Linked DNA regions of Homo sapiens: regions 2, 3, 4, 5, 6 and 7 are each linked to region 1. Evidence: promoter capture Hi-C in human tissues and cell types (Jung and others, 2019). All regions are on one chromosome and are shown on one strand. The core of a region is centred on a gene start or on the middle of the fragment in contact, and the rest is flanking DNA. Distances in the headings are between cores, read along the strand shown.

Region 1 (4,206 bases), core at 1,707-4,206:
GCTTAAAACAGCACCTGGTGTGCATGTGTGTGTACATACACATAAGCCACTTCATTACTATGAGGACGAGGGCAATGAGGTTGATAATGATACATGGCTTGATGTATGCTTACTCATTATCAGGCAAGGTAGGTATCAAAAAAGTGTTCAATCTAAGGCCAGGCGGGGTGGCTCATGTCTGTAATCCTAGCACTTTGGGAGGCCAAAGCGGGCGGATCACTTGAGGCCAGGAGTTACAGACCAGCCTCACCAACATGACAAAAACCCATCCCTACTAAAAATACAGAAGTTAGCCAGGTGTGGTGTTGAGCACCTGTAATCCCAGCTACTCCAGAGGCTGAGACAAGATAGCGCCACTGCACTCCAGCCTGGGCGACAGAGTGAGGCTCTGTCTCAAAATACATACATACATACATACATAAAAAATGCTCAATCTCTTCTTAAATTCCTAACATAAACTACTTCTAAAGGCATTTAATAGACAACTGATTCTTCCCAAGACTTACAATATGATTTTGCATATAAAAAGCTGAAAGGAAAGCAAAGAAGGTAGATAGCTATTTTTCTGAAATTCATTAACTAATAAATGGTTGCTGCTTTGCATATCAAAAAACATGCATAATCATGGCTAATCATGATGAAAAGGGAGATTTTAAAAGGAAAATAATCAGCGTTTTAAAACGGCCGGGCGGGCGTGGTGGTCACTCCTGTAATCCCAGCACTTTGGGAGGCGGAGGCAGTTGGATTGCTTGAGCTCAGGGGTTTGAGACCAGCCTGGGCAACATGGCGAAACCTCCTCTCTACAAAAAATACAAAAATTAGCCGGGCGTAGTGGCTTTCGCCTCTAGTCCCAGCTACTCTAGGGGACGAGGTGGGAGGATGGCTTGAGCCCAGGAGGCAGACGTTGCAGTGAGCTGAGATAGTGCCACTGCACTCCAGCCTTGGCGATACGGCCAGACCTTGTCTCAAAAAAATAAATAAATAAGATGCAACTATGTAACAGTATTTAGATTTAAAATAAATACTAAAAAAAAAACATGCAACTAGTGATAATATTTAGCTTCTACTGTGTACATACAAGATACTATGCCTACTTTAATATACTTTAATGAAGGAAAAAACATGCCTCTACCATAACTTAAGCCCACTTTTTCTATGAAATACAGTACTTCTATCTCCCCTTCAAATTAACTAAAGTCAACAAGTACACAAACTGGCATTCGTACGTACTGCGTGCTGATTTCAACTGCTTTATTCTTTATTGTTTTACAGGTTAGTCTTTTTTCATTAACTAAATTGTAGCCTCCTTGCAAAAGAGCAGCCATTTATTTCCTATTCTTCCCACCATGTCCACCACTACAGCCCCTCGCTCCTACCCCCCATCCTAGCACGGCACTTAAATAATAAAAGGTCCTGGCAGCGAAACTCAAAACTGTTTATTTCTGACCTTTAGCAGTAAACAATGTTAGAAAGGCAGATGGAACCACGTTTATCAAAACACAGAACACACGATGTTTACATTTCCTAAAGCGCGTCTTTTAGTTAAAATTAAAGGATGAGAGTTAAAACGAGTTACAAAAGACAGCTGGTGTTTGAAAGAAAAACACTGGAAGTAATAAAAACGGAGTGAAAAGGCTGATGTTGGGATTAAAAGAAAACATTTTTTTAATACAGCTGCAAATCAGTCATTGTTTTCTGAGAGGCTAGGTTCATCTCCAGGATTTTCTTCTAGGAGCTCAACCAATGGCCACCTTTACTGAGTTAACCAGTCTCCAGGCAAGCAGCCCTTGCTGATTGGCTCAAAGATGTCGAGTAGAAAAAGCAGCCAATCCTGCCTTCAAGCCAGAACTGTGCCATGGAGACATTACAACCACTGCATGGCGAGAATGTGTACAAACCTGTCCGTGCCACAAATATCAGATCCTAGTTACAAAGACTGCCGCCGAAAGGAAGAGCCTTTGAAGCCAACACTGACACTGACCTGTCATCTACATTCTATTACTCTAGCTCTCTTTCGGAGGGAAAAAAAAAACTATTTTAACCAAAAGCGCATGAGAGATAAACTGTGCCCCCGCTAAGATGACTCACTCTATTGAGGATGAATTTCCAAACGGACGGCTTAGAGAGAGTCCCGATGAGAGAGGGGCTCTAGAAGGGTCCCATTGAGGGACAAAGTTGCAGATGGGGGCAGGGGAGGCGGGACGAGGGCCAAAGACACACAAATGCCGGGGAGGGGAAAGTCTCCCCGCAGTCTCCAAAATCCGAACGTGTGAGTGGCTGTGTGTCTGGACTTGAACTGAGTAAATAAACGGCTCTGCTAGGACTATGTGCTCAGGAAGGTGGCCTGAAGTTCCCAGAAGGCTCCGCCTGGCAAACACCTAAGGCGCCTGGAGGGGCGCAAGGTCAGGTCCCGGCGGGAACAGATCTGGGAGGAAACCTCGGGGGGTCGAGAGGGGTGTGTCTGGGGCCTGGAGGCCCGCCAGGCACTCGGAGGCCAAGGAAGCGGCCGCGGCCCCCGCCTTCGCCCGGCCTCGGGCTGAGCGCCAGGGCCCGCCTCTCGCCGACGCCTCACTTCCCTTCCGTCCGGGCAGCCGGGCCCGCGGGTCAGATCGGAGGCGGCCCGCGCCGGGCCCCACATTCAGGGCTTGGGGGTTCATTCGCCGCGCCGCCCGCCGCTGCTTCAGGCCCTCCGCTTCGGCTCGGAGCCCCGGGACCCCTAACCTCCAGGGCCCTCACCTTGGACCCGCCTCCCTGCCTCCCACCCGCCGCCTTTACCTGCTTCTGGAGCGGGCAGAGGGCGTCGAAGCCGGTGCCGCGTCGTCGAACGCACAACGCGGCGCCGCAGGTCCGCAGCCCTTTCCCGCCGGCGCCACTGCGCTCTCCCGCGCCGCGCAAGGCTAGCAAGCAGCTGCGGCCGCGGGGGAGACACGGCGAGCGCGCCCGGCGGGGAGACACTGCCGCTCTCCGTCCGGCCGGGGAAGAGCAGCCGCGCAGAAGCCCGCCGCGAGAGGGCGGGTGGGCGGCCGGGTGGGGAGGGGTCTCGAGGCGCCGGCAATGGCTGCCACGTCGCCCAGGTGGATCGCCGCCCACCGCCCCCCCCCAAGCCCGCCGGCTGTCCGCCACGACCTCTGCTTCGTCCCCGAGCTCCGCCTCGGCGCGGCGGCCCGGGGGACTTGAGCCCGCGGGCGCTCCCACCTCTCCCGCTCCCGCTCTCCCGTTGGAGAGCAAGCCCTGCCCGGCCGGTTCGGCTGCTTCCGGTCGCCCACCCCCCAAGTCTCGCCCGAGAGCGGGCCGTGGTCCCCACTTTTCTTATCAGGGGGTCCCTGGAGGAGCAAGCCCTTCTTCGAGTGTCGGGTTCTGCTTGGGGGGAAGGCGGGAGCTGTTTGGCGCTGGGGAACATTGCAACAGGCCCGGAATTTTTGCCAAAATAAGCGGCGCGGTAAACCACAGCTGTTTCTAGCCCTCGGCACTCTCCCGAGCCCCAAAAAACAAAACAAACACAAGGTCGGCCTCGCGAGGTGAGGGGAGAAAGGAAAGCAGAGCTGGGACGAGCCCTGACGCGCGCGGGGTCCAGGCTGCAAGTTGGGAGGGACGGCGAGGCGAGCGACCGGCCTCGGCATTGCCTGACTAGGGCCGTGGCCGCTGCGGCGGGCACGGGAACCCGCCTTCTCGCGCGCGGCCCTCCCGCGGGGGGCTTCCGGGCGCGCGGCCTCGGAGCCCCACGGGGAGACAAAGGGGTAGGCGACTGCCACGGGGTGGAGGGAGGCTGCCCAGCCCCATCGGCCCTGCCAGCGTGCGGTCTGAGCTCGGGGAATGTGTGCGCCTTAGCCGGTGGAACCGCAGCCGCTGGCCTTTGCCCCCAGTTCGAGCTTGAGTTTTCGGATGCCAAGAAAAAGCAAAGACGTGCTCTTCCCTCTTGCGACCGCTGTAGTATGAGTCCGTCCCCAAGCCTGCACCATTTTTTTTCTCTCAACTCTGCTTTCCCTGGTTTATTTGTTCTGGGTTCTGATGTGAAATGTTTAGTGTTTTCAGGGTACGCAAATTTTTCACCTTTGCTTTCTGGTTGGTGGTGGTGGTGGTGATGGTAGTGGTGGTGGTTTTGCCTGTTTTTTACTTCCTCCGTCCCCTCCCTTTGCGGTTACTTTTCATTCCACTTGCAGTGGTTTTTCCCAGAATAGAGAAGCGAAATAACCTCATGACAAAGTG
Region 2 (3,781 bases), core at 643-3,142, 380 kb after region 1:
CCATTATCTAAAATGGCAATCAGTTAATCTGCTAAGCTAAATTGCTTAAAATAACTAGTGGCTTTGAATTAAATAATTGAAATATAATTTCATGGCCAGAAGTTTTTTTCAGAAATAATTTAGTCCTGGCCAGGTCCAGTGGCTCATATCTGTAATCCCAACAATTTGAGAAGCTCAGGCAGAAGGACCCCTTGAGGCCAGGAGTTCAAGACCAGCCTGGGCAATATAGGGAGAGTCCATCTCTCCAAAAACTTGAAAAAAATTAGCTAGGCATCATCTGGCGGGTGCCCCTCTGGGATGAAGCTTCCAGAGGAAGGAACAGGCAGCAATCTTTGCTGTTCTGCAGCCTCCACTGGTGACACCCAGGCAAACAGGGTCTGGAGTGGACTTCCAGCAAACTCCAGCAGGCCTACAGCAGAAGGGCCTGACTGTTAGAAGGAAAACTAACAAACAGAAAGGAATAGCATCAACATCAACTAAAAGGATGTTGTCCACACAGAAACCCCATCAAAGGTCACCAACATCAAAGACCAAATGTAGATAAATTCACGAAGACGAGGAAACACCAGTGCAAAAAGGCTAAAAATTCCAAAAACCAGAACGCCCCTTCTCCTCCAAAGGATCACAAGTCCTCACCAGCAAGGGTATAAAACTGGACAGGGAATGAGTTTGACTAATTGACAGAAGTAGGCTTCAGAAGGTGGGTAATAACAAACTCCTCTGAGCTAAAGGAGCATGTTCTAACCCAATGCAAGGAAGCTAAGAACCTTGGAAAAAGGTTAGAGGAATTGCTAACTAGAATAACCAGTTTAGAGAAGAACATAAATGACCTGATGGAGCTGAAAAACACAGCACGAGAACTTCGTGAAGCATACATGAGTATCAATAGCTGAACTGATTAAGTGGAAGAAAGGATAATCAGAGACTGAAGATCAACTTAATGAAATAAAGTGTGAAGACAAGATCAGAGAAAAAAGAATGAAAAGGAATGAACAAAACCTCTAAGAAATAGGGGACTATGTGAAAAGACCACACCTACGTTTGATTGGTGTACCTGAAAGTGACAGGGAGAATGGAACCAAGTTGGAAAAGACTCTTCAGGATATCATCCAGGAGAACTTCCCCAACCTAGCAAAACAGGCCAACATTCAAATTCAGGAAATACAGAGAACGCCACAAAGATACTCCTTGAGAAAAGCAACCCCAAGACACATAATCATCAGATTCACCAAGGTTGAAATGAAGGAAAAAATGTTGAGGGCAGCCAGAAAGTTCAGGCTACCCACAAAGGGAAGCCCATCAGACTAACAGCAGATCTCTCTGCAGAAACCCTACAAGCCAGAAGAGAGTAGGGGCCAATATTCAACATTCTTAAAGAAAGTTATTTTCAACCCAGAATTTAACATCCAGCCAAACTAAGCCTCATAAGCAAAGGAGAAATAAAATCCATTACAGACAGGCAAATGCTGAGAGGTTTTGTCACCAGCAGGCCTGCCTTACAAGAGCTCCTGAAGGAAGCACTAAATATGGAAAGGAAAAACCGGTACCAGCCACTGCAAAAACAAGTTCTGAAATTGAGGCAGTAATAAGTATCCTACCAACCAAAAAAAGTCCAGGACCAGATGGATTCACAGCCAAATTCTACCAGAGGTACAAAGAGAAGCTGGTACTGTTCCTTGTGAAACTATTCCAAACAATAGATAAACAGGGACTCTTCCCTAACTCATCTTATGAGGCCAGCATCATCCTGATACCAAAACCTGACAAAGACACAACAAAAAAAGAAAATTTCAGGCCAATATCTCTGAAGAACATTGATGTGAAAATCCTCAATAAAATACTGGCAAACCAAATCCAGCAGCACATCAAAAAGCTTATCCACCATGATCAAGTCGGTTTCATCCCTGGGATACAAGTCTGGTTCACCATACACAAATCAATAAAAGTAATCCATCACATAAACAGAAGCAATGACAACAACCACAGGATTATCTCAATAGATGCAGAAAAGGCCTTTGATAAAAATTCGACAACCCTTCATGCTAAAAACCCTCAATAAACTAGGTATTGATGGAATGTATCTCAAAATAATAAGAGCTATTTATGACAAACCCACGGCCAATATCATATGGAATGAGCAAAAGCTGGAAGCATTCCCTTTGATAACTGGCACAAGACAAGGATGCCCTCTCTCACCACTACTATTCAACATAGTATTGGAAGTTCTGGCCAGGGCAATCAGGCAAGAGAGAGAAAGAAAGGGTATTCAAATAGGAAGACAGGAAGTCAAATTGTCCCTGTTTGCAGATGACATGATTGTATGTTTAGAAAACCCCACTGTTTCAGCCCAAAATCTCCTTAAGCTGATAAGCAACTTCAGCAAAGTCTCAGGATACAAAATCAATGTGCAAAAATCACAAGCATTCCTATATACCAATAATAGAGAGCTAAATCATGAGTGAACTCCCATTCACAATTGCCAAAAAGAGAATAAAATACTTAGGAATCCAACTTACAAGGGATGTGAAGGACCTCTTCAAGGAGAACTACAAACCACTGCTCAAGGAAATAAGAGAGGACACAAACAAATGGAAAAACAGTCAATGTTCATAGATAGGAAGAATCAATATCGTGAAAATGGCCATACTGCTCAATTTATAGATTCAATACTATCTGCATCAAGCTACCATAGACTTTCTTCACAGAATTAGAAAAAACTACTTTAAATTTCATATGGAACCAAAAAAGATCCTGTACAGCCAAGATAATCCTAAGTAAAAGAACAAAGCTGGAGGCATCACGCTACCTGACTTCAAACTTACTACAAGGCTACAGTAACCAAAACAGCATGGTACTGGTACCAAAACAGATATATAGACCAATGGAACAAAACAGAGGCCTCAGAAATAATGCCACACATCTACAACCATCTGATCTTTGACAAATCTGACAAAAACAAGCAACGGGGAAAGGATTCCCTATTTAATAAATGGTGTTGGGAAAACTGGCTAGCCATATGCAGAAAACTGAAACTGGACCCCTTCCTTATACCTTATACAAAAATTAACTCAAGATGGATTAAAGACTTAAACATAAGACCTAAAACCATAAAAACCCTAGAAGAAAACCTAGGCAATACCATTCAGGACATAGGCATGGGCAAAGACTTCATGACTAAAACACCAAAGCAATGGCAACACAAGCCAAAATTGACAAATGGGATCTAATTAAACTAAAGAGCTTCTGCAGAGCAAACGAAACTATCATCAGAGTGAACAGGCAACCTACAGAATGGGAGAAAATTTTTGCAATCTATCCATTTGACAAAGGACTAATATCCAGAATCTACAAAGAACTTAAACAAATTTATAAGAAAAAAAACAAACAACCCCATCAAAAAGTGGGCGAAAGATATGAACAGACACTTCTCCAAAGAAGACATTTATGTGGCCAACAAACAGATGAAAAAAAGCTCATCATCACTGGTCATTAGAGAAATGCAAATCAAAACCACAAGGAAATACCAGTTAGAATGGCAATCATTAGGGCTGGGCATGGTGGCTCATGCCTGTAATCCCAGCACTTTGGGAGGCTGAGGCGGGCAGATCACAAGGTCAGGAGATCAAGACCATCCTGGCTAATATGGTGAAACCCCGTGTCTACTAAAAATACCAAAATTTAGCTGGGCGTGGTGGCAGGCTCCTGTAGTCCCAGCTACTCGGGAGGCTGAGGCGGGAGAATGGCATGAACCCGGAAGGCAGAGCTTGCAGTGAGCCAAAAT
Region 3 (4,029 bases), core at 196-2,695, 340 kb before region 1:
GTGAGGGTTACATGAGATAACATAGATCCAGCATCCAACATATGGCCTGATATATAGCAAGTTGTGAGTAAATGGTAGCTGTTTTTATGACTGCCATCATTTTTAAGGAAAACCCAAAAGAGGCCTGGCACCATGGCTCACACCTGTAATCCCAGCATTTTGGAAGGCGGAGGATCACTTGAGCCCAGGAGTTCGAGTCCAGCCTGGGCAACGTGGCGAGATGCCCTCTCTACCAAAAATACAAAAATTAGCCCAGATGTGGATGTGTGTGCCTGTAGTCCCAGGGACTCGGGAGGCTGATGTGGAAGGATCGCTTGAGCCCAGGAAGTCGAAGCTGCAGTGAGCCATGATTGTGCCACTGTACTCTGACCTGGGCAACAAAGTGAGACCTTGTCTCAAAAAAAAGAAAAAAAAATTGGATAACTCTAAAATTCATACTTAAAAAATAAAACCCCAAAAAAATAGTATAGGTTTGCCAGGCAGTGGCTCACACCCATAATCCCAGCACTTTGGGAGGCCGAGGAAGGTGAATCACCTGAGCTTAGGAGTTCAAGATCAGCCTGGGCAACACAGTGAAACTTCATCTCTACCAAAAGTACAAAAAAAAAAAAAAAAAAAAAAATCCAGGCATAGTGGCCTGCGCCTGTAGTCCCAGCTACTCAGGAGACCGAGGTAGGAGATCACTTGAGCCTGGAAGGCAGAGGTTGCAGTAGCCAAGATGGTGCCACTGCACTCCAACCTGGATGACAGAGTAAGATGCCATATCAAAAAAAAAAAAAAAAAAAAGAAGAGAAAAGAAAAGGAAAGAAAAGAAATAGTACAGGGAAGGCAGAGTGGGAAAGCCTGCAAGAAGATCCTCTGGTATATAAAATAAACAAAAGATCAGGCCGGGCGTGGGGTCTCATGCCTATAATTCCAGCACTTTGGGAGGCCGAGAAGGGCGGATCACTTGAGGTCAGGAGTTTGAGACCAGCCTGGCCAACATGGTAAAACCCCGTCTCTACTAAAAATACAAAAAAATAGCTAGGCACTTTGGGAGCCCGAGGCGGGCGGATCACGAGGTCCGGAGATCGAGACCATCTGGCTAACACGGTGAAACCCCATCTCTACTAAAAATACAAAAAATTAGCCAAGCGTGGTGGTGGGCGCCTGTAGTCCCAGCTACTCAGGACGCTGAGGCAGGAGAATCGCTTGAACCCAGGAGGCGGAGGTCGCGGTGAGCCGAGATCGTGCCACTGCACTCCAGCCTTGGCAATGGAGCAAGACTCCGTCTCAAAAAATAAATAAATAAATAAATAAATAAAATAAAATAAAGATTGCTTTGTATGGCTTTTTTCCTCCTTCAGAGTAAAACCAAGGAGCAAAGATATGATTCTAAAGTTGCAGTCCATATTGTCAAAAAGGAATATAATGTAACCAGGATCATCTGAGTTTTACTGCGCAAATGACAAGGACATTTGACCCCCATACAGTATGGTAAGATCAAATGCTGAAAGCCCGGCCCCTCTACAGTGCTCCTGTGACCCCAGAGAAGTCAGACTCCTAAAGCTGAGTGATTCAGGGCAATGCATGCATAACGAGTGGGAGGACTCTGGGTAGAGCGAAAAATAGAAAATTTCCATTTTTATTGTGGCTTTCTAACTAATATGTCAAAATGGACAGAGGATAGAAATACTGCAGACCAGAATCAGAAGCAGGAGAGCCAGAGAAGTCCAGAACCCAAGAAGTAGAGTTTTAGAAAAAAGACACTCTGGTTAGAATCATGATCACTGTGCTTCAGCAGCTCAAGAAATCTTTGTAGTCAAAAGATTTCCTTTCTCTTCCCAGGGGAGGAATCCGAGGCTCCTAAGGTCAGATTACTTGCCCACATCCACAGTTAACAAATCTGGGCCTGTTAGCCTCAATGTATCACTCTTTTCATATCTAGGGATTTCAGAGAAGACCCTTAGAGGGAAGAGTCAAGAAAATGGGGGTGGGGAGAGGGTCATTTCTATCCAAGTCCCAAGATCTGTGATTGGCTTAGCTGGCAAACTGCAGCTTCATGAAAGGAAACTTGACTCCAAGAACTGCAGCCAGGAGAAGCCCTGGGGATGAAGGCCAAATGTTAAAACAACAAGAGATTGGAGTTGAGCAATGGATGGCAGGACTCCAGGCACAGGAAGGGAGCGAATGCACCTGCTTAGGTACTGAAGCATGACGGGACTTGGACAGGCCCTACCCCCACAGGAGAGACACTGGAGAGGGCAAAGCAAGAGGGCTCGACTGGAAAAACTCACGGGGATTGTAAGCACAATCCAAGTTTCTGGCACAATCATGGGATTTTTTTTTCCTTGCTACCTAGGATCTAAATCCCCCTTCTTAATTTTGAGGAATCTCCCACTGTGAGTGACAGTATTCTTCTGGCACCAGGATCTCAAGAGTTAACCAGAAGTTCGGGAACCCAGTGTAATGATGCCTCATCTTCTGCTTGTTAGCCAGCGCATGCATAGCACAGAAGCTAAAAGGCAGAAATTCTTGCCCTTCTTGTCCATGGCTGCCAAAGAGATCACACAGGTCTCAGGAGACCACCACCCAGGACTTTGCACCATGCAAAGTCATAGACATAGTGATATTGAATCCATGGTGGCAGCTGAAGTGGTCAAGCATTAAGATCAGTGTCCAAGGATGGTGGCCACAGTTGGCCATGGTGGCAGCATCCTGGCTGCATTGTGTCTACTAGCTTCTGAGCCTGCCTCTCATGCCTTCTTACTTACTCTGTGATCAACCTTTCAGTAAATACCCCTCTGCCATTGCTGGCCAGCATCCAACAGATTTCTGGCTGATACCAGCACCATTCCTCACCTGTAACAGGAAAAGCTGAGGAGTTTTAGAGGCCAGTACTCACCTTGATTGTGAATCTTACTAAGGCAGAAGATGTAAGAATCCACACCATGGAAGATTTTTCTTTAAAATTCCCAACAGAGCATATGCTGGGAAACACATTTGAAAAACCACCTGTCGACCAGGCACGGTGGCTCATGCCTATAGTCCCAGCACACTGGGAGGCTGAGGCGGGCAGATCACCTGAGGTCAGGAGTTCGAGACCAGCCTGGCCAACATGGTGAAACCCCCGTCTCCACTAAAAATACAAAAATTAGCCGGGCATGGTGGCTCACGCCTGTAATCCCAGCTACTCGGGAGGCTGAGGCAGGAGAATCGCTTCAATCTGGGAGGTGGAGGTTGCAGTGAGCCGGGATCGTGCCATTGCACTCCAGCCTGGGCAATATGAGTGAAACTCAGAAAAAAAAAAAAGAAAGAAGAGAAAAACCACCTGTCTTACTTGCCTCCTATGATGCCGGGAGAGAGATTTGGCAGGACAGGCCATAGTCCTGCTGCTGCTGCTCTCCATTAGGGACAGACCCCTGTTTCAGGTCAGAGGTTTAGGAACTTAACCAGGATCACACAGGTAGCCAAGTGGCAGAGTGCTTGGAAGCAGATGGATTCGCTTGGGCTTTGAAATATCGAGGAGAAAAGGGGCTTTGGTTCCCTTTAAAAAGAGACATTAGAGGCTAAAAGTCTGGCGTGGATTATAAAATTGGCACTGAGGCTTCCATAGTTCCAAAAACAATGAAGTACTGATTGAAAGAGAGAGGGAGTTTGAGAGCTGTTTCCTGATTGGAAAAAGGAAGGCAACCCTGGGATTTGTGAGCCACGCTGAGAAAGTCTGACAGCCGTTCTCTCTCCCTGCTTTCCTCTGCTGATGTATACAGAGGAAGAAGGGAAGTACACATGGTCAGTCTGAGGAAATACCCTTTGATCTTCTTCTGGGTTCCTATTTTCTTTTTCTTTTTCTTTTTTTGGGGGGGCGGGTGGGGGGACGGAGTCTCACTCTTGTCGCCCAGGCTGGACTGCAATGGTGTGATCTCAGTTCACTGCAACCTCTGCCTCCTGGGTTCAAGCAATTCTTCTGCCTCAGCCTCCTGAGTAGCTGGGATTACAGACACCCACCACCACACCCGCCTAACTGTGGTATTTTTAGTAGAGACGCGG
Region 4 (3,765 bases), core at 388-2,887, 460 kb before region 1:
CCAGCCTGGGCAACAAGCAGACTCTGTCTCAAACAACAGCAACAAAAAAATTAAAATTAAAAAATTTAAAACATTTTAAAAAGAAATAAAAAATAAAATAAAATTAATACTGTGTTACCAAATACATTCTTAAGGAAAATTGGCTTTAAAAAAAGGTAGAACAACTTCAAATGCCTGGTGGTAAAAAAATGCCACAATTACTAGTATACTTTGGTGGCACTGCCTCTCACACGGCTAGAAGTTTTAGCCACCATTGCCTTTTTATCACTAGTCCGTGTCAATGCCGTGTAAAAGGGAAATATGTTAGTATTTTTAAGAACCGTGGAGCCTCTCAGCATTCCAGGGACCTCACTTTGAGAACTGCTGGTCTAGCGGTTGATGTCCCCATGATAGGCAGCACCGGACAGTGTAGACTGATCTCCCCTCTCCTATTGCAGCCCCTCCTTCCTTGGGCAGTTTGGGAAAGCACCAAGAGCCCCTGGGCCCTTTCTTACACATCTGTTGAGGTTGGCTAGGTGATGAGCAGTTTCTGAGGTCACATTCATGGTACTCTTTGAAGTCCTCTAAAGGGGTTTGAGTATGATTCATGGGCATTCCTAAACCTTTGGAAGATTCCGGAAGATTTAGAAGCTCCAGATTAAATCTCTACCTCTCCTTTCTCCTCTACTATTTCCTAGTGTCCAAGGGAGCTCAAAACCCCTTTCAGAAGCTGAAACTATTCTGCAGGCCAAATATATACTAGCCTCAAAGATATTCAGGCTAGACATGGGCCCCTACAGCTGAAAGATGCTTTGGAATAGGCCTGGGGCGATAGAGCAGCACTCCCCAGAGACACATTATTCTGCCCTATTGCAGCTCTGCAGTTGAAAATTCTAGGGGTATACCTGCATGCTGGCATACCAAAACCAATAGAGAAAAAACTCCACTTAGAATCACATGGCTGGAGGTGGAAAATGCTATTATAAAACATTTCTATTGCACAGAAGGCACAGTCCTTTCTCAGGGACACATAATTTAGTCTCTGAGCAGCATGAGACTTTTATGTGCCAAGTGCCGTATAGAACACGGGGAATTCTAATACAACCTACAGGGTTTAAAGTCAAATGACAAATTTGTGATCACAGAAAAAAAAGAACATAAAAGGCTTACCCAAAGTGGGAGAAGCCATATTTTTTGGTTGGATTTTATGGTCAAAGGAGGGCTTCAATATGAAATAGAGTTCATCAGTAGATTTCAAAGTGAGCAGTAGAGATGATCTTAATTAGGGATAAGAGGGTAGGGTGGGCTGGGCACGGTGGCTTATGCCTGTAATCCCAGCACTTTGGGAGGCCAAGGCAGGTGGATCATGAAGTCAAGAGATCGAGACCATCCTGGCCAACATGGTGAAACCCCGTCTCTACTAAAAATACAAAAATTAGCTGGGCATGGTGGCGGGCGCCTGTTGTCCCATCTACTCGGGAGGCTTAGGCAGGAGAATTGCTTGAACCTGGGAGATGGAGGTTGCAGTGAGCCAAGATTGAGCCACTATACTCCAGCCTGGGCAACAATAGCGAGACTCCGTCTCAAAAAAAAAAAAAAAAAAAAAAAAAAAGGAGGGTAGGGTAGAGGGAAGTGGGAGAGGAGGGTGAGGAGACCAAGGTAAAGGATTGAAGGATGCTGGGTGTGGTGGCTCACACCTGTAATCTCAGCACTTTGGGAGGCCGAGGTGGGCAGATCACCTGAGGTTGGGAGTTCGAGACCAGCCTGACCAACATGCAGAAACCCCATCTCTACTAAAAATACAAAATTAGCCGGGTGTGGTGGTGCACACCTGTAATCCCAGCTACTCTGGAGGCTGAGGCAGGAGATTCGCTTGAACCCGGGAGGCAGAGATTGCAGTGAGCCAAGATCGTTCCATTGCACTCCAGCCTGGGCAACAAGAGTGAAACTCCATCTCAAAAAAAAAAAAAAAAAGATTGAAGGAGAAAAACAGTTGAACTGGTTCTGGTCAGAGGTTGGCAGAAAATACATGCAAGTGATTTTTATTTTTTATTTTTTTTAAGGACAAGATCTCACTCTGTTACCCAGGGCAGAGTACAGTGGTGTGATCTTGGCTCACTGTAGCCTCAACTACAGTGAGGAGTCCCGGCCCAAGCAATCCTCCCACCTCAGCCTCCCAAGTAGCTTGGACCACAGGCGCATGCCACCATGCCTGGATCATTTTTTATATTTTTTTTTTTATAGAAACAAGGGTCTCACTATGTTGCCTAGGCTGGTCTTAAACTCTGGGCTCAAGTGATCCTCCTGCCTGGGACTCCCAGAGTGCTGGGACTACCGGTGTGAGCCACCACTCCTGGGCTGGATCTTGATTTAGACCAGGCTTGTCCAACCTGTGGCATGTCCAGGATGGCTTTGAATGTGGCCCAACACAAATTCATAAGCTTCCTTTGGGATTTTTTTTTTTTTAAAGCTCATAAGCTATCATTAGTATCAGTGTATTTTATGTGTGGCCCAAGACAATTCTTCTTCCAGTGTGACCCAGGGAAGCCAAAAGATTGGACACCCCTGATTGGGCAGTAGGGTGTGTAGGCTACAGTGTGCATGTGCATGAGAGTGTGACTCAGGCAAAGAGAAGGGCTCCAACTGGGACCCGCTGAGGTTCTCAGATCTGTCATTATTAGCTGTGTATCCTTGGGCAGCCTCTCTGAGTCTGTCCTCTCATCTGTCTGTTTAATTAAATGAGGTGTCATATATCAAATACTTGATTATTGTAGGCACTTGAGATGCAATGTTTGCAGCTGGGCGTGGTTGCTCACGCCTGTAGTCCCAGCACTTTGGGAGGCCGAGGCAGGTGGATCACTTGAGCTCAGGAGTTCGAGACCAGCCTGACCAACACGGTGAAACCCCATCTCTAAAAAAATAGCAAAATTAGCCGGGTGTGGTGGTGTGTGCCTGTAGTCCCAGCTACTCAGGAGGCTGAGGCAGGAGAATTGCTTGAACCCGGGAGGTGGAGATTACAGTGAGCCATGATGCCATGATGGCACCACTGCACTCCAACATGGGTGACAGAGTGAGACTTCATCTCAAAAAAAAAAAAAAAAAAAAAAAAAAAAGAAAAGAAAAGAAACAATGCTTGTTTTGTGGTGTGATTTGATGGCTATCTTATTGGCTATCTGGACTTCATAATCCCATTTTCTCATCCTCATTGAAATACAAAATAAATAAATAAATAAAAGCAAAGCAACTACCTTAAAACCCCAAATTCTGGCATTTGTTTATATAGTGATCCTTCTGTATCCATGGGGAATTGGTTGCAGGCCCCCCAGATTTTGGATGCTCGAGTCCTCTATATAAAATGGTGCAGTATTTGCATATGACCTACACATATCTTCCCATATACTTTGAGTCATCTCTAGATGACTTAGAATACCTAATCCAATGGAAATGCTAGTAAGTAGTTGTTATGCTGTATTGTTTAGGGAATAATGACAAGAAAAAGAAGTCTATGTGTTTAGTACAGACACAGCCGTCCTTTTCACATTTTTACATTTTTAATTTTTTGTGGGCACATAGTAGTATATATATTTATGGGGTACATGAGATTTTTGAATATTCTTGATCTGTGGTTGGTTGACTTCAGGGATGCGGAACCCACAGACACTGAGGGCTGACTGTACGTAGAATATATGCCTTTGAAACACTGTTTTGGATTCAGATTTTGTGTCTTCAAACTTTTTTTTATCAAAATTTAAGTATATTTCTGAACAGTAAGGCATTGGACTCCAT
Region 5 (4,312 bases), core at 1,073-3,572, 420 kb after region 1:
ATAGCAAGATCCTATAACAAATTAAAAAAAAAAGTAGCTCACTGTGGTGGCATGTGTCTGTAGTCTTAGTTATTCAGGAGGCTAAAATGGGAGGATCACTTCAGCCCAGGAGTTTGAGGCTGTAGTGAGCTATGATTGCACCACTGCATTCCAGCCTGTGCAACAGAGCAAGACCCTATCTCAAAAAAAAAAAAAAAAAGGCCAGGCGCGGTGGCTCACGCCTGTAATCCCAGCACTTTGGGAGGCCGAGACGGGCGGATCACGAGGTCAGGAGCTTGAGACCATCCTGGCTAACATGGTGAAACCCCGTCTCTACTAAAAATACAAAAAATTAGCCAGGCGTGGTGGCGGCGGGTGCCTGTAGTCCCAGCTACTCGGGAGGCTGAGGTAGGAGAATGGCGTGAACCCAGGAGGCGGAGCTTGCAGTGAGCCGAGATCGAGCCACTGCACTCCAGCCTGGGCAACAGAGCAAGACTCCATCTCAAAAACAAACAAAAACAACAACAACAAAAACAACAACAACAAAACCAAGTACTGAGAATTTTGCAACAACCAGTACAATTCTAGTTTTGTACCATACTGTTCTCTTAAACACAGCTGTGTTCTCAAACACATACGTGCCCATGGGTGCACTCAAGCATAACAGATTTTGTTTGGAGTTGCACAAATTAAAGACCCTTTGGTACAGTGTCAGCTCATTAGGGCACCAGATTCCATCTCAAACTCTGAATTTGAGTAAGCAGAGTTCAAGGTTGCAGATTAAGGGCCAAAATCTTTATTCTTTGTATCTACTTTGCAATTAGTTAACTGGGAAACACTTCAAGTTTTACCAGAAACCTTTAATTTTCTAGAAACCTTTACCTGTGTTCAATATCCACTTTAATTAAAAAGCTCTTGTAAATGATACTTATTTGGGGAAGGTGATTCAGCTTGTCGAGGGGTAATTAACCAAATTGCTGAGGTGGAAGTCTGGGTAAGTGAAAAGGTCATCAAATCTGAGTAAGAAAGCTTGCAGCTTTCACCTCTCCGTCAAGACTGGCAGAGAGGCACTTTCGTAAAATCTTTGTTTGGGATTCACTTTTACTTCGCCACTTGTCCCATTTTAATTAAAGCTTGCCAACTGAAGGACCTAAGAAAACAATATAGTTCTGCATTTTGCCAAATTGGGAAATTTCCAGGGCCCCCAAAATTTAGCGGGGAGACTCAGAGACTAGAATGGGAGAATAGGAAGCACCAACTTGCTCTAAAAGGAAGATTGGGTAAAAGCAGCACTCTTATTCCAGCTCTACAACCAAAGCAACTAAGACTTGGGCTGGCTGGCTGCCTAGCCACAGCATTCCCTCCTACTTCCCCATTATCTCCTGACCAGCAAGTCATCTTTGGTCACATATCTTTAATTATTTAGTTTGAGACAAAGTCTCACTATCACCCAGGCTGGAGTGCAGTGGCGCGATCTCGGCTCACTGCAACCTCCGCCTCCCGGGTTCAAGCGATTCTTCCACCTCAGCCTCCCGAGTAGCTGGGACTACAAGCGGGCACCACCATGCCCGGCTAATTTTTGTGTTTTTAGTGGAGATGGGGTTTCACCATGTCGGCCAGGCTGGTCTCGGACTCCTGACCTCAAGTGATCCGCCCACCTCTGCCTCCTGAAGTGCTGGGATTACAGGCATGAGTCACCAAGCCCGACTACATATTCCTTTTATTAATATTCCTGTTGAACTTAATTTTGGTCGTTTCCGGTGCAAAAATGTTAAGGTAAAGGGAATCAATAACAGCCACATTTGATGTATTTTTGTAATCCCCATCTCCAATTTCCATCCGGGCCTGAGTAACCAAAAACACTTTACAGGGGTAGACTGTCTCAACAGACATCAATTTGTAACCGCGTCTACCTCTACCACGGTATTCTAAAGACTCCGTCGAGGAAAACCTTTAGCTCGGGCAACGGGAGACACATTACAGAACACTGTCCGCCGCCGAAGAAACAGACGATACGCGGGAGAGTTGAACAGACACCCGGCCTCGCCCCGATTGCTTCACAGTCCTCAGCCACGCCCCTCCCAACCGGAACTACATCCCCCGCACTCCGCGCCCCCACGCACAGCGTGTCGTAGGCGTCCGAAGCCGCAGGCTCCCGCCCGGCTTCCCGGGACGCACAGGGCAGGCGCTGGGCATGCGCATGCTCGGCAGGCGGGGCAGCTGGAGTCTCCAGGCGCTGCAATCTGTTGCGCCGCCGCCCGCGGGAGCCGGCAGATCCGGGTCTTGTGGCTAAGAGTGACGTGGTCACTCGAATCAAAACAGAGGAGGGGGAGGAAGCCGGCGGCCAGAAACGGCAGTGGCAGCAGCGTCCGGAGCAGCCGCAGCCTTCTGGAAGCTCCAGGCGGTCTTTCTGCCGAGCCTCGGTCCCGGCCCCCATCCTCCCCGCCCCATCGGTTGTTGTCTGGGCGGGTGAGTGTCTCCCCCTCTCCCACCAGCGTTTGCTGGCTCACCCTCCCCTCGCCCCAGTTTTTCCTGGGGGCTCCTCAGGCTCTCGGGGACTGCGGCGGCTGCGGCAGAACAGGGCTGTTTCTCGGGCTTGGCGTTTCCTCGGCCGGGCTGGCGATTCTGCACCGGGAGAAGCTCCGCTGCTGCCGAGCCCGCGTCCCCCGCGAAGAGCCTGCAATTGGGTATTCTCTGCAGGATGTCAGAGTCGGGGCTTTGCAGGCAAGGGCAAGGTAGCCACGGGTGGTTTTATTTTTAGGATCAGATTGTCGACGGGTGGAGGCGTATCATGGAGTAAAAAGAGAGTCGTAGCTGGAAGGAAAAACTCACAAATCCTGAAATCCACACTATCTTGTTTACCGTCTCCCTCAGCCCTTTCTGGGTACGGTGAAGTCACTAGGATGCGTCCTTTGTTGTGATAAGTGAGACGAGAAAGCTGACACCCTGAAAGCGAGAGCTTTTTAGCTCCTATTGTGTCGCGAATTTAAAGGATCCCCTTTTTCTGTTTGCTCAGTAAGTGGAACCAAGGCTGACAGTAAAGAGGTAGCAGCACCCTTTATTGGAACTAATAGTGTGTGATAAACTGGTTACCGGCTCTACCCGAAGTCCCGTGTTGCTGTTTAAAGGCAGACTTCACCAAAGTGGCTGTTTATATGTGCCAGGATTTTAGCCGAGATGGTTTGCTAGCTGTAGAGAGTCGGTAGGATGTTTTCAGTTGCCCCAGTTGGCAAAACCGAGGCTGTGGCCTTAATAGAATGTGTTACTTTTGCATCGAGAGAGTCGGATGAGCTTCACACACGTAATAGCTACATTTGCAGAAGAGACCTTCCAGTTTGTGTGTGTTATTGTCAGAAACAGCAGCTGTACATATTATAACTTGGAAAGCGTAAGACCTTCCAGGTGTTGGAGTGTTGGGACGCTTAGGAGGCATTCTTGCTGCCCAGCGCTGTGGAGGTTGCAGGAGGCTTTGCATTCCCTTCCACTTAGGGTGGCTGGCCGCGCAGATTCCTTTAGTGTAGCCTGCTCCGAACTTGCCGCTCTCCGCGGCCGTCGACAGCACTGCGACCAGAAAACCAAACCTTTTTGTCCTAACTTTTTTTTTTTTTCCAACGTGGTGTTTAAGAACACCGCTTCACCCCCGAGAACTCATTAATTGAGGTGTTTCAGTGGTTAACAGCAAGAAAGAACAACAGTACGTGATAGTTAATTGCTCCTTATCAAACCCAGGAAGAGTTATGAGTTTAGATTATTTCCTTGAAGGGTATGTCCTTGTGGTATAACATGAACCCCTTAACGAATCTTTTCTCCAGTGTTTGCCGTTGAGATATTTTTTCTTACTACTGTAGTTGGAATCCTTCTGATTTAGAAGAAGGAAAGATTTCTTGAAGTTCTTTTTCAGCTTTTTACCTTTTATGCTAGCCTATAACTAATATTTTTGGTTATACGAAATACTTTGTGTAATAGAGAAGATGTTGATAAAAGCAGATAGGAAAAAAAAATCAATAATCCTGCCACCCAAAGATCACCAAAATGTTAGTTTATACCCTTCTAAACTACTTTTTTGCATTTATATATTTTATACAAATATGGTATCATACCACATATGCTTTTCAGTACATAACCTGCTTTTTCACATTCTAGTACTTCTTTTTTGAGTAATAATTTAAATTTTTCAGACATGGACTTTGGACCTTAAATTTTAGAGCGTATTCACTACACAGTAGTGCCCCCTTATCCGTGGTTTCACTTTCAGGGGTTTCCCGAGTTTCAGTTTCTGTGGTCAACCGCAGTTTGAAAATACAATCATATTTTCAGAGACCACATTCACATA
Region 6 (3,786 bases), core at 521-3,020, 420 kb before region 1:
GCTGAGGTGGGAAAATGGCTTGAACCGGGGAGGCGGAGGTTGTAGTGAGCTGAGATCGCGCCACTGTGCTCCAGCTTGGGTGACACAGTGAGACCCTGTCTCAAAAAATTAAAAAAATAAGATAAAAAAGGGAATGCAGGCTAGTTATACCTCCTCCAGGAAGCTTTCCCCATGGACTCTGATCTGTCTTAGCAATACTCTTCACCTGATTGTGGTGGCTCCCATTGTCTGGATAGCACATGCTGTTCCATTTCTGTGTATTCTATATGTTGTAATTATCAGACATTTAATGATCTCTCCAAGAGGATTATTAGCTCCCAGTTAATAGAAATCACATCATGGCCAGGTACGGTGGCTCACACCTGTAATTTAATAGAAACCACATCATGGCCGGGCGCAGTGGCACATGCCTGTAATCACAAGTACTTTGGGAGGTTGAGGCCGGTGGATCGCCTGAGGTCAGGAGTTCGAGACCAGCGTGGCCAACATGGCGAAACTCCATCTCTATTAAAAATACAAAAAGGCTGGATGCGGAGGCTCACGCCTGTAATCCCAACACTTTGGAAGACCAAGGCGGGCGGATCGCTTGAGGTCAGGAGTTTAAGACCAGCCTGGCCAACATGGCAAAACCCTGTCTCTACCAAAAATATAAAAATTAGCTGGGCATGGTGGCGCACACCTGTAATCCCGGTTACTCTAGAGGCTGAAGCAGGAGAATTGCTTGAACCTGGGAGGCAGAGGTTGCAGTGAGCTGAGATCATGCCACTGCACTCTAGCCTGGGCAACAGAGCGAGACTCCGTCAAAAAAAAAAAAAGCCACATCATGATCCAGGTCTTTGACTGCACTTCCCCAGGGCTTGAGTACATCTCAAAAATAAAAATAAAAATAATAATAATAATAATAATAATAATAATAATAATAATAATACAAAAATTAGCAGGGAATGGTGACATTCACCTGTAGTCCCAGCTACTCTGGAGGCTGAGGCAGGAGAATTGCTTGAACCTGGGAGGCAGATGTTACAGTGAGCCAAGGTCACGCCGCTGCACTCCAGCCTGGGTGACAGAGTGAGACTCCATCTCAAAAAAAAAAAAAAGAAAGAAACAACATATGATCCAGGTCTTTGACTGCACTTCCCCAGGGCTTGAGTACATCTCGGGATATTATAGAAAGTGCTACTTAAACACCAGTTGAAATGGAAGAGCATAGTACTTGATAAATCCAGAATGTTAGGGGATTTTTGTGGCAATTTTGAGGAAATTATTAAAATATCATTTGATTATTAAAGAGTAAAACTCACAAAATACTTGGCAAAACCACACACTTCCTGAGCCCTTGTTAACCTGACTGCCTTGTTCCTCCTGGCTCAGGAGGAAATATATCTACTTTTCATATTATGACAATGTAGCTGGCTTTTCCTTAGCACAAGTGGAAGAAAGGGCTATAATGTTACACATGATATGTGACTTGGTAATAGGTGTCTTCTCTCCACCAGCATTCAATATGTATTCTGAACTTTCTCTTTTTAAGATTAAGAAGTCTGTTAAAACTACCACAGAATCTATTAGGTAAATACTAATAATTACTTAGCTTATCAGATGCTACATTTTGCTGTGTTAGAGGGACAGACAGAAAGGGATCGCCATAAAATCTAGCAGGTTTCTAAGAATTAATGAAGAGTGCTGCCTCGGGTAGAGGAAGGGCTTAGAGAGAAAATGCAAAGAGAATTCTCTTTAGATTCAAATTAGATTTTGTGGCTTTCTTAACTTATGGTTTCATTCATTGAACATTAAAGGGTTTCCTACTTAGCTCCAAAGATGCCATCTCAAAGTTCCAAAGTTTTTCTGGGTTAGTACAGAAGTTCCTGTCCCTGGCAGGCTGACAGAGCAGCAAGGTGAAACATGGGTAGGTAGGTAGAGAGGTAGCTAATTAGGAGGAAAGAAAGAAGATTATCTACTTAGCTTGAGGCGGTAAAGTGTGATCTCTAAGAGCCAGAATGCCTGGGTTTGAATCCTCACTCCACTACTTATTTGCTGGCTGTTGGTCTTGGACCAATTACTTTATTTCTTGTTTTCTCATCTATAAAATGGAGATGAGGCTGAGCGCGTGGCTCACGGCTGTAATCCTAACACTTTGGGAGGCCGAGGCAGATGGATCACCTGAGGTCAGGAGTTCGAGACCAGCCTGACCAACGTAGTGAAACCCTGTTTCTACTGAAAATACAAAAATTAGTCAGGCATGGTGGCGGACACCTGTAATCCCAGCTACTCAGGAGGCTGAGGCAGGAGAATCACTTGAACCTGAGAGGTGGAGGTCGCAGTGAGCTGAGATCACAGAATTGCATTCCAGCCTGGGCAACAAGAATAAGACTCCGTCTCAAAAAAAAAAAAAAAAAAATGGAGATGATACTAGTACCTGCCTCAACCTATGTATGGGGGTTGCCTGTGTTAATATATGCGAAACACTTAGAACAGTGCCTGGTGAAGGACAAGGGCTGTATGTAGGAGTTAGCTATAGTTATTTTATTACAGGTGGATGTGATGAATAATTTTAATCTTTAAAACAGTTGTACCTCTGGGCACAATGGTGCAGCTGTAGTCCCAGCTACTTAGGAGGCTGAGGGAGGAGGATCGCTTGAGCCCAGGAGTTCTAGACCAGCCTGAGCAACATAGCTAGACTCTATCACAAAACAAAAATGAGTAAATAAACCAAGGATGCCAATTGAGAAGGTACCATTTTATTTATATTTATATATTTATTTATTTATTTATTTATTTTTGAGACAGGATCTCACTCTGTCATCCAGTCTGGAATGCAGTGATGCAGTCATGGCTCACTGCAGCCTCAACCTCCCAGGCTCAAACAAGCAATTTTCCCGAGTAGCTGGGACCACAGGCATATGTCACCATGCCCTGCTAATTTTTTTATTATTTGTAGAGATGGGGTCTCACTATGTTCCCCAGGCTGGTCCTGAACTCCTGGGCTCAAGCAATCCTCCTGTCCTGGCCTCCCAAAGTGCTGGGATTATAGGCATGAGCCACTGTATCCAGCCTACCATTTTAAATTTTAAAAGGACAGCCCACAGATCCTTCCTAATGTCCAGATAAGGAACACTCATTTCAGATATGACAATGTCCATTGTTTAATTCTTCCTTCTCTGTGACTGTTGATGCTATAATAGGATAATAGACAAATTAACCGAAAGAAAATACTATGGTGCTTTAATCATATAGGCTTGTGGATACTGCTTTATACTTCATCTGTTTTTCAATACTGGTTAATTAGCTTCTTAGCCAACTATTATTGCTGATACCACCAATACAGTTATGTGATTTCATTATCAGTGTTTGACACCTTTTCAGGTGAAGGCTACCATCTGAATGTCTATGCGCACACATATGTGCAATTTCTTTTATGCTTTAGTCATGTGTTAATACAATAAACAGTTTCAGCAAAGGCTTGAAATTCTAAATAGTGTCAAATATACTTGTGGAAAATGATATGCTACTACTATATACAAAAGCAAATACACACATAATCTTTGCATTGGCTATATCTTAGCTTTTAGATAATTAAACTAAAAAGTAGGCTGGGCATGGGGGTTCATGTCTAATCTCAGCATTTTGAGAGGCCAAGGCAGGCAGATCACTTGAGCCTAGCATTTCGAGACCAGCCTGGGTAACATAGCAAGACCTGTCTCTAAAAATAAGAAAGTAATAACTAATAATAATAACTCTCTTACCAGGATGCCACAGTGGCCTTAATAGATCCTATCTGAAATAGGC
Region 7 (4,298 bases), core at 1,013-3,512, 360 kb before region 1:
CTGCCATGTAAGACATGCCTTTGCTCCTCCTTCACCTTCTGCCATGATTGTGAGGCCTCCCTGGCCATATGGAGCTGTGAGTCCATTGAATCTCTTTCCTTTATAAATTACCCAGTCACGCATATGTCTCTATTAGTAGCATGAGAATGGACTAATACAGTGGAGGAGAATCCTAAGTAAAATCTTCAGAGACACATTGGCTTCCCCAACAGGATCATATTTCCTTGAAACTCCATTCTGCACAGTTACCAGAAACAAAAGCAACACTAATCCCTGCATATGCAAGAAATATGACCTTTCCTAGGCTAATTTTTAGCCACCCTTCTTTCTTGGCTCGTTCTACTTTGTTTGTCAAAAATCTTCATTAATGATTAACCAACCATGAGGTTTAAATAACCTTAGTCATTCTAAGGCAGCTAAGAGATGTCACTGAAGCCCAGTTTTTTCTGAGATGACCTTGCTGGGGGTGTGCTGGGTCAAAACATTTGCACTTAATGGTATTGTGATAACACTGGGCCATGCCAGTTTGGTTTTGCTGGGATTTTTCCGCTCCTTTTTCACGACCTTTATTCCAAACTGACAGCACCATGAGATAGTTTTACTTCCGTCGACCTCACCACCCTCACACCTCCACCCCCATTCAAATTTGGCCATTTGACCCTTTCTCAATCTTATATAGAGTACTATGCAGACTCAGCTTCCCAATAAACCCCTAATGTCCCCTTTCCAAATAAGACACTCCCCTAAGGAGAGAAATTCTGGAAATGCAACTGATTCTAAATGTGCTCTAGCATTTATAGAGGGAATCTCTTGTGCATAAGAGACAACAGCCAAAATAATCTACTTAGAAATTACCCAACGCTTTAGTGCAAACAGCCGTGCCACTGAGTGCTCAGTCAAGCCTGCCTTCGGCGAGCATGTCTTTTTTTGGTTCCTCATTTTCCTTGTGTTTGGGAATAATGTTAAAGTCTTAGATGATGATCATTCAGCAGGAGATAAGAATAATGGCTGACAGTAACTTACCATATATGCCAATGGTCAAGTACTTTACGTGGATATTTTTTAAACTTTTTATTAAAAGAGTAACATAGATACAGTAGTGTACATACCATAGAGAGCTTGATGAATTTTCACAAACTGAGCACATCCATGTAACCAACATCCAGAGGAGTAACATGACCAGCATTCCAGAAGGTTTTGCATGGCCCTTTCCAGTGACCACCTCAACAAGGGAAACAGTCAAATCTACAGCATAGATTAGTTTTGCATGCATCATGTTTTCACACTTGAGCTTGCTACTCTTAATACCCCCATTTTACAGATAAAAAGCAAGGAGGCAGAAGGAGGTTTCATAACTTCTCCCGAGACCACGTCGCTGGTAAGTGAAACAGTGTAGATCTGAACCTGGAATATCTAACTCTAGAGCTGGGGCTGGGGTTGGAGGGATTATAGATCACCCATTTTGTAAGGATGTAGAGTCATTTGTTTGTTCTAGAAGTCACACCGATCTCCTAATAGAGTCACTTTATCTTAAAGGACATTGGAGCAAGTGGAAAGGAAAGTTTAAAAATTACACACATTGCAGAATATAGATGCAAAACTTTCTGGAGTCTGAAGGTCTTATAGGGTCACCTTTCTACATTTTTTTTTCCTGGTGGCCTCCAAGCCTCTTACATTCTAGCATGTCTTTTATCAAATGTTGCTCTCAGAAAGGGAAGAAATAAACAAATTCATTCCCAAGGAGGTGAGTTATGTGGGGCTTTTTGTCTTTTGTTTGTTTGTTTTGAGACAGGGTCTTGCTCTGTCACCCGGGCTGGAGTGCAGTGGCGCAATCCCTGCTCACTGCAGCCTCGATTTCCCAGGCTCAGGTGATCTTTCCACCTCAGCCTCCTGAGTAGCTGGCACTACAGGCATGTGCCACCACATCCAGCTAATTTTTTGTATTTTTTGTAGAGATGGGGTTTCGCCATGTTGCTCAAGATGGTCTCGAATTCCTGTGCTCAAGCGATCCTCCCATCTCATCCTACCAAAGTGCTGGGATTACAGGCATGAGACACTGTGCCTGGCCTCCTGAGTTATGTGGTTTTCATTGAACAAATCCCTTGTCAACGAAGCTAAGGAAGAAAGCCCTAACTTTGGAAGTTAAGGCCATAGCCAGTCAAATAAAGAGAATAACTTCAAGAGTCAGGAGGTTCTCCACCAGCTCCAGGACACTGTACCACAAAAGCAGCCCAATCTAGGGAGGCTAGCCCAAGCCTTCTGAGTTGCCGAGGGGCCAAATAATTAGACCCTCTGGACAGTTCAATGAATAATTTTAACAACTAGTGTCTCAAATAAAAGATATACGATATAAAATGCTGGAAAGACATGCCAGTCAAGGATAATCAGCTAATCCTTGAATAGCATTTCACTGGCCACAGAAGCCTTTCTAAAACTCTATCTCCCTGATCTTCATGACAATCCTGTAAGATAGTTACAGATGACATTCTCCCCTTCCCATTCATTTAACAAATGTTTTGTTTTTCGAGCATTTATGTGCCAGGCTTTGTGATGGGGCCTAAAGACAAAATGGTGAACATGATCTCCATTTTATCAAGGGAGAAATTGAGGCCTAAAAAGGATAAGTTACTTGCTCAAGATACAATGATACTCAAAATTCAATTTTTTTTTTTTTTTTTTGAGACAGTCTTGCTTTGTCTCCCAGGCTGGAGTGCAGTACACTCTCCGCTCACTGCAACATCTGCCTCCCGGGTTCCAGCAATTCTCCTGCCTCAGCCTCACAAGCAGCTGGGACTATAAGCCTGCGCCACCACGGCCGGCTAATTTTTTGCATTTTTAGTAGAGACAGAGTTTCACTGTGTTGGCCAGGCTGGTCTCGGACTCCTGACCTCGTGATCTACCCACCTCAGCCTCCCAAAGTGCTGGGATTACAGGCGCGAGCCACTGCGCCCGGCCTCTTGCTTCTCTTTCATTTGCCTTCCACACTGGGGCCACAGTGATCTTCCTAAAACCAAATCTGAGTGTCACTTATGTCACATATCTTTAGAAGTATCCCACTGCTGACTGTACCAAGTCCAGCTTAAAACACACAAGGCCCTTTATAAACTGGCCTCTGTGCACGTCTTCAGAATTATATCCTGCCAGTTGCATATGGGCAGAACGGATATCCACTATGCACTGGTATGTCCATTTTGGTCACTTACTGCCCATGTTCCTCTGACTGACCAGTGCCTGTCCTGGTTACTGAAAACTTTGATTTTGTCTTTCACCTGCTTACCATTCTCTCCCATTATTCCGAAATATTAATATTTGCAGTTCCTTTAAAAAGCTCCCTTCCCGGCCGAGCGCGGTGGCTCACGCCTATAATCCCAGCACTTTGGGAGGCCAAGGCGGGCAGATCATGAGGTCAGGAGATCGAGACCATCCTGGCTAACACTGTGAAACCCCGTCTCTACTAAAAATACAAAAAATTAGCCAGGCGTGGTGGCGGGCACCTACAGTCCCAACTACTCTGGAAGCTGAGGCAGGAGAATGGCATGAACCTGGGAGGCAGAACTTGCAGTAAGCTGAGATCTGGCCACTGCACTCCAGCCTGGGCGACAGAGTGAGACTCCATCTCGAAAAAAAAAAAAAAAAAGCTCCCTTCCCTCTAGGAGTGTCCACCCAACAAACTCCCACTTATTCATCAAGTATTTATTGAGCACCTACTATATATACACTTGGGCTAGGCATTGAAGATAGAGAACTAAAAGTCCTGTCCTCAAGAAGGTACTGGTCTAGTGAGAACACAGACAAGTTAAAAGATCGTGATAAACTAGTGGGAGAAGTGTTAGGACAGAGATAAATCCTGATGCTTGGGTAGCACAGAGAAGCGATACTTAACCCCAGACTTGGGGTTCAGGGAGCTGCTCCTGGATCGGGGACATCTCAGTTGAGTTCTGAAGGCTCAGACAGGGCAGAAGGAATCTTGATAAAGGGAGCAATGGATCTGTAAAGAACATAAAATAAGCAAAGCCTAGAATGGGAGGTGAGGCTAGTGATATGAGGCTGAAGAGAGTTGCTGGACGGTGTGTGGGGAGGGAGCTGGTGCACGCTGTGCCCAGTTGGCAACTCAGTGTAACATTCTATCCTGACCACAGTGAGGAGTCAATGATTGATTTTTTTTTTTTTAAGACAACATTTCTCTCCTGTCACCCAGGCTGGAGTGCAGTGGCATGATCTTCCCTCACTGCAACCTCCGCCTCCTGGGTTCAAGCTATTCTCCTGCCTCAGCCTCCCAAGTAGCTGGTATTAGAGGT

Evidence for each region. The method cuts DNA at HindIII sites, captures the fragments that hold promoters and counts their contacts. A contact is called where the count stands out against the background at its distance.
Region 2: a contact is called between a fragment that was not itself captured here and the fragment with the promoter of N4BP2 in region 1, in 1 of the 25 tissues and cell types used here (hippocampus).
Region 3: a contact is called between a fragment that was not itself captured here and the fragment with the promoter of N4BP2 in region 1, in 1 of the 25 tissues and cell types used here (spleen).
Region 4: a contact is called between a fragment that was not itself captured here and the fragment with the promoter of N4BP2 in region 1, in 1 of the 25 tissues and cell types used here (bladder).
Region 5: the fragment with the promoter of SMIM14 here is called in contact with the fragment with the promoter of N4BP2 in region 1 in 2 of the 25 tissues and cell types used here (H1 embryonic stem cells and aorta).
Region 6: a fragment that was not itself captured here is called in contact with the fragment with the promoter of N4BP2 in region 1 in 2 of the 25 tissues and cell types used here (mesenchymal stem cells and stomach).
Region 7: a contact is called between a fragment that was not itself captured here and the fragment with the promoter of N4BP2 in region 1, in 1 of the 25 tissues and cell types used here (lymphoblastoid cells).

Annotation. Positions count from the first base shown.
Region 1 is chr4:40,055,600-40,059,805 of GRCh38, reverse strand. It overlaps N4BP2 (NEDD4 binding protein 2), which reads right to left and starts at 2,956. Exons shown (of 18, transcript NM_018177.6): 1 at 2,776-2,956. It also overlaps the pseudogene LOC344967. RefSeq lists enhancers at 1,895-1,994, 2,095-2,144 and silencers at 2,335-2,684, 2,735-3,194, 3,535-3,744. The HindIII fragment of the contact is 26,276 bases long and covers 1-4,206 here.
Region 2 is chr4:39,670,927-39,674,707 of GRCh38, reverse strand. No RefSeq gene overlaps it. Among named protein-coding and RNA genes, the nearest start is that of UBE2K, 25 kb to the left of the region's middle. The HindIII fragment of the contact is 4,059 bases long and covers 1-3,781 here.
Region 3 is chr4:40,394,127-40,398,155 of GRCh38, reverse strand. No RefSeq gene overlaps it. Among named protein-coding and RNA genes, the nearest start is that of RBM47-AS1, 30 kb to the left of the region's middle. The HindIII fragment of the contact is 3,608 bases long and covers 1-3,249 here.
Region 4 is chr4:40,517,486-40,521,250 of GRCh38, reverse strand. The region is part of intron 2 of RBM47 (RNA binding motif protein 47); the gene reads left to right. Among named protein-coding and RNA genes, the nearest start is that of MIR4802, 17 kb to the right of the region's middle. The HindIII fragment of the contact is 4,481 bases long and covers 1-3,765 here.
Region 5 is chr4:39,636,875-39,641,186 of GRCh38, reverse strand. SMIM14 (small integral membrane protein 14) reads left to right here and starts at 2,322. Exons shown (of 5, transcript NM_174921.3): 1 at 2,322-2,448. SMIM14-DT (SMIM14 divergent transcript) reads right to left here and starts at 2,047. Exons shown (of 6, transcript NR_183845.1): 1 at 1,893-2,047. RefSeq lists an enhancer at 1,663-2,380. The HindIII fragment of the contact is 11,439 bases long and covers 1-4,312 here.
Region 6 is chr4:40,478,588-40,482,373 of GRCh38, reverse strand. All of the region lies in intron 2 of RBM47 (RNA binding motif protein 47), which reads left to right. Among named protein-coding and RNA genes, the nearest start is that of MIR4802, 22 kb to the left of the region's middle. The HindIII fragment of the contact is 5,969 bases long and covers 1-3,786 here.
Region 7 is chr4:40,414,729-40,419,026 of GRCh38, reverse strand. No RefSeq gene overlaps it. Among named protein-coding and RNA genes, the nearest start is that of RBM47-AS1, 9.3 kb to the left of the region's middle. RefSeq lists a cis regulatory region at 364-377 and an enhancer at 298-442. The HindIII fragment of the contact is 9,189 bases long and covers 1-4,298 here.